Regions from separate parts of the Homo sapiens genome. Here region 1 is linked to region 2. Evidence: promoter capture Hi-C in 16 types of primary human blood cells and fetal thymus (Javierre and others, 2016). All regions are on one chromosome and are shown on one strand. Each heading gives the region's core, a stretch centred on a gene start or on the middle of the fragment in contact. The rest is flanking DNA. Distances are from core to core; before and after follow the strand shown. Region 1 overlaps MKNK1 (MAPK interacting serine/threonine kinase 1). Region 2 holds the start of TEX38 (testis expressed 38).

Region 1 (2,700 bases), core at 65-2,564, 110 kb after region 2:
AAGAGAGGAATAATTGGGACCAGGCAGTGGCTCACGCCTATAATCCCAACACTTCGGGAGGCTGAGGCAGGAGGATCCCTTGAGGCCAGGAGCTTAAGAACAGCCTGGGCAACAAAGCGAGACCCCATCTCCACAAAAAATTTAAAAATTAGCTGGTCACAGCGGTTGCATGCCTGTAGTCCCAGCTACTCAGGAGGCTGAGGTAGGAGAATTGCTTGAGCCTGGAGTTTGAGGCCAGCCTGGGTGATATAGTGAGACCCCTGTCTCTTAAGAAAAAGAGAGGTTAAGTTTCAAAGGACATTATCTATCAAGAAAGTGAAAAGACAATCTACAGAATGTGAGAAAATATTTGCAGATCATATATCTGGTCAAGGTTTAATATCCAAAATATATAAAGGATTCCTAAAACTCTACAACAAAAAGACAAACCAATTTAAAAATGGACACGGGACTTGAACAGACATTTCTCCAAATAAGGTACACAAATGTCCAACAAGTACATGAAAAGATGCTCAACATCCTTAGTCATTAGGGAAATGCAAGTCAAAACCACAATGAGATACCACCACATACTACTAGGTAGGCTGTAATTTAAAAAATGGAAAATAGTAAGTGTTGTTACGGTTATGGAGAAATCGTAACCCTCATACATTGCTGGTGAGATTATATAATGGTGCAGCTTCTGTGGAAAAGTTTGGCGGTTCCTCAAAGGCTAAACACAGAATTACCATATGACCCAGCAATTCCACTCCTAGGTATTACCCAAAACAATTGAAAACAGATACTTGTATAGCAGTATTCATTACAGCATTGTTCACAACAGCCAAAAAGGTAGAGACAACTCAAGTGGTCATCAGCAGCTGAACAGATAAACAAAATGTGGTACATACATTCAATGGAATACTAGTCAGCCATAAAATGGAATGAGGTTTTGATACATGCTGCAACATGAATGAACCTTGAAAACATTATGCTAAGTGAAATAAGCCAAACATAACAGGACAAATATTGTGTAAATCTACTTATATGAAATATCTGGAATGGGCAAATTAATAAAGACAGAAAGTCTTAATTAATAAAGTCAGATTGGAAGTTACCCAGGGCTAGGGGAAGAAAGAATGGGAGTTATTGCTTAATGCGTATAGAGTTTCTGTTTGGAGTGATGGAAAAGTTTTAGAAACAGATCGTGGTGATGGTTGCACAACCCTGTGAATGTACTTAATTAATACCACTAAACTGTCTACTTAAAAATGGCTAAAATCTCATATTTTATGCTTTATATTTTACCACTAATAAGAGGCTAAAGGAAAAAGAAAAGAAGAAAAAATAGAGAAAAGGGGAGGGAGGAAGGAAGGGGAGAAAGAAGTCGAGGGACTTGCCCAGGCTTCCCGGCAAGGACATGGGTCTCAGAGAACCAGCATTTAGTTCACTCGCTGTGCTGCTTACATGCCATGTAGGCCATTCTCATCCATTCTCATGTGTGCACCCAAACTGCCTTCCTGGTTGGCTCCAGAGATGAGGCACCTGTCTGTGGTCTCAGGCACAGCATCCAGTTCTGGTGGACTTGGTTACTGTGTTGATGCCACCTACGGTGACCAACCATCCCAGTTTTCCCAGGCTTGAGGGGTTTCCTGGAACGCAGGAGTTTCCGTGTTTAAACTGATCAAGTCCCAAGCAAGCCACCCAAGACAAGTTGGTCACCCTAAGCCACCTGAGGCGGTCAGAGGTTTTACTGCAAGCTCCTTTACACTCCACTGAATGGGCTGCAAGAAGTCTGTCTCTCAGGAGTACACAGTAACTTCCCTAGCTGCTGTGCTGCAACCTGTACCATCATTTGCCAGCAAGAGTTCCATACTTCCTTTAGTCTGAGTTCACAATAATCTGACACCAAATAGTCCACCCATTTTTCCCTTAGATGGGAAATAAGAGAGCTCAGGGAATAAGACACTTGGGAAGAAATCCTCAGGGGACTTCTTGTTAACCTCCGGAGAGCAAACATGACCTGACAAAACCAGCTGCGGTGTGACAGCCACGGAGCCATGCACCCGTACAGCCATGCCTGGCTCCTCTTGCCCCGTAGTTTCTTATATCTGTGACCCTGTCTTCTGTTTTCCTTTTCAGGTGTCTCCAGTGAAAATCTGTGACTTTGACTTGGGCAGTGGGATGAAACTGAACAACTCCTGTACCCCCATAACCACACCAGAGCTGACCACCCCAGTACGTATGCTTCCTCTGGGCTCCTAAGTATTTGGAGTGTTTCCCTGATCCAGAGCTGGGAGGTCCAGAACAGAGGGTTAAGGATGGAAAACCAAGTGGACCTATCTTCCTGCTGCCTGAGTGATCATTTTGCTTGCTGCTCTGTGTTCGTGGCTCTCAAGCCTCCCCTGACCCCTTAGTTGCTAACGAAACTGACACTTGGACTGTTAGTTGGGTTGGGTCCTCTCTGCTGATGAAGAGACAAATTATATCTATAAGCACAGGCTGGCCGTTTGCAATGGCTCATGCCTGTAATCCTAGCACTTTAGGAGGTTGAGGCAGGCAGATCACCTGAGGTCAGGAGTTTGAGACCAGCCTGACCAACATGGAGAAACCCCATTGTACTGAAAATACAAAATTAGCCAGGCATGGTGGCGCGCACCTGTAATCCCAGCTACTTGGGAGGCTGAGGCAGGAGAATCGCTTGAACCCGAGGGGTGGAGG
Region 2 (2,700 bases), core at 118-2,617:
GCAGGGGAGCAGGGGCTTCCGCCTTGGGGTTGCTGTCTTGGTCAGCATGGCTCCTGCCTTCGGGGATGTCCAAATCCCACAGAACATCTGGATTCTGGACCTCAGTCTCAGTCTTGGTGACAGCAGGGGCAGGGCCCGTGTTGATGGCTGCATTCATGCCGTAGCGCCGTCGCTTGTTAATCCAGTACAACAATGGGCTGTAGGTGAATGTGGCAGCTCTCATCACCTCCACCCACTGCTGGGCATGCTCTTCCCGCCTCAAGTTCTTCCTCCAGTGCAGAAAGATAATGCACCCTCCAGTTATCACAGAACACAGCCCCAGGATTCCAAAGTACAATGAGACCCACACTAAGGCAGCAAGAAAGAAAAAGAGGCATGCTGGCTGATAGCTGTAGCTTGGGGCCTGAGCTGTTTCTCATTCCTCTTTCACTTAACCCATGCATCAATCGCTCCATCCACTTAACTACTCTCACCGTTCCTTCCCTCCCTTATTGACTTGCCTCATCATTCCCTTATTCAGTCAAAGCTAGATTTCCAGGGAGCTTAAGCACCACCTTTAACTCTTTACAGATCACAAAAGCTAGGTCTAGCGGGGGCATGTGCTGCCCAGGCTCAGTCAAGCCTCTGATTCCTAACCCAGGACCCATCCAATCCATCAGACTGAGAAGTTTCACTATGGGCAAGTCCATCAAGAAGCAAAAGTTCACCAGCACTTTGTGAGGCCCAGGTGGGCAGATCACTTGAGGTCAGGACTTCAAGTCCAGCCTGGCCAACATGGTGAAACCCCGTCTCTACTAAAAATTTTAAAATTAGCCAGGTGTGGTGGTGCATGCCTGCAGTCCCAGCTACTTCAGAGGCTGAGGCAGGAGAATCACTTGAATCCAGGAGGTGGAGGTTACAGTGAGCCTAGATTGAGCCACTGCACTCCAGCCGGGGCAACAGAGCAAAACTTCATCTCAAAAAAAAAAAAAAAAGTGAAAGTTCATCAGTTGACAGAGACACCAATGTCCCATCCCATTCCATTCAGCTGTGATAGTCCTGGGCTATTGATAGTATCTTCTCTGGTTGATCAGAGCATGGTCTTTGCCTTAAAATAATTCTTAGTTTTCTAGAGTAGACTATCTCCTAACTGCTTAGCTCTCCTCCAGGCAGCCAGGCACTGTCCCATCCATGCAAAGGGCCTTCCCTGAGTGTTTGTCCCCAAGCCCTAAGGCACAAGTCCAGTGACAGGGACTGGAGGAGCACTTACTCCCAGGGAAGCGCAGGTCCTCCTGTTGGGAATCCATACAGCTGAGCTTTGGTACCTGGCCGATGGCTCTGGGGAGAGGGAACTCACCCACCCATCTGCCCAGCCAGTCAGCCCATCTGCCCAGCCAATCAGAGTCTCCAGAATGCCCAGGCCCTTTGTTCTCTAAAGGAGAGGTCACTGGGTTCTGAGAATTGGGCATTCTAGGGGCAGTGCTTGTGAAGTGGTCCTGGGTTAATGGAAGGAGGGGACTTCATCCAGTGGCATTTTTTGGGTGGAATGTCACTACTACTTCCATCAGAGACTGGTTCACCTATTGAATTGTCTGTACCTACCCCTTATGGTGAACCCACAGAGCAGACCCCAGAAAAGGGCCATTGTCCCTCAGGTACTTACGGATGTTGCTGGTCTTTAGGGAACGGTTGATGGGATACCTGTCCCCAGTGAGGAATGTAACAAGGAACACACAGCATTGGGCAGCCCTGTTCTCAAAAAGTATCTAACCAAGTTGGCAGGAAGAAACCTGCTCAAGGGAACCAAGTGGTCAATACCTCCTTCTTTGGCTCCAACAATCTGTCTTTTATTTAATTACCTTCCTTCAAGTGCTGACAAGTGTTTCCCAGGCCCCAGGCCCTGTGGGGCTTCCCACCATCTGGCCTGCATCTACTTCCAGCCTTACTTCCCTCCTCGTCCTCCACACACTTTTCCCTTTTGCCTAGTCCGTACTCCTGAACAGACCCTGCTCATTCACATCTCTGGAGGTGTGCCCATGCTGCTCCTTCACCCAGGAGTGCCCCTGCCCACTTTTCCACCACTGAACACCTGCTCATCCTTCAAGACTCAGCTCAGCCCCCCTACTCTGTGACAGACTGCCCAGAATCATATCATCGCCAATTTGAAGAAACTTTGAGAGTTGTCTAGTTCATCTCCACCATCTGATCCCACCATCAGGGCCATGCTTGACTCCTGGGGGTAGATTTTTCCCCACACAGCAACTAATCTCCCTGGACTCAAGACTCACTTGAGTCAGGAACTTGCTCACCACCTCCTGAGGCAGCTTGATGCATTTATGGGCAGCTCAGTTAGAAAGCCCTTCCCTAATTAAGCTTAAGTCAGCCTTCCCAGTATGTTGCACCACTGCTTGTAGCTCAGCTTCTTAGCACCATTTTAATGACTCCCCTCTTTATAGTCCTCCAATGTGTGACTTAGGGAACTATTTAGCACAGAATTCTCTCCAGGGTCCACTTACCCTTGTTCTCCTCGTATATCACTGGCCCCTACTTTCCAGTCTCCTTTGCTGGTTTCTCCCTTTTCCCCTGATCTCTAAATGTAGGCATGTCTAGGGCTCAGTTCTTAGTGCTCTATCTACATTCATTCCATCAGTTATCTCACCCAGACCCCTGGCTTTAAATATCACTATACACTGACAGTACGCAACTGTATCTCTCCAGCCT

The links. The method cuts DNA at HindIII sites, captures the fragments that hold promoters and counts their contacts. A CHiCAGO score of 5 or more calls a contact.
Region 1: a fragment that was not itself captured here is called in contact with the fragment with the promoter of TEX38 in region 2 in 1 of 17 cell types (M2 macrophages); the score reaches 5.4 in M2 macrophages.

The regions. Positions count from the first base shown.
Region 1 is chr1:46,564,558-46,567,257 of GRCh38, reverse strand. MKNK1 (MAPK interacting serine/threonine kinase 1) reads left to right here. Exons shown (of 13, transcript NM_001135553.4): 9 at 2,122-2,217. The region is part of intron 6 of MKNK1-AS1 (MKNK1 antisense RNA 1); the gene reads right to left. Among named protein-coding and RNA genes, the nearest start is that of KNCN, 14 kb to the right of the region's middle. The HindIII fragment of the contact is 9,875 bases long and covers 1-2,700 here.
Region 2 is chr1:46,670,521-46,673,220 of GRCh38, reverse strand. It overlaps TEX38 (testis expressed 38), which reads right to left and starts at 1,367. Exons shown (of 2, transcript NM_001145474.4): 1 at 1,250-1,367; 2 at 1-348. The coding sequence starts at 1,286. The HindIII fragment of the contact is 3,767 bases long and covers 1-2,354 here.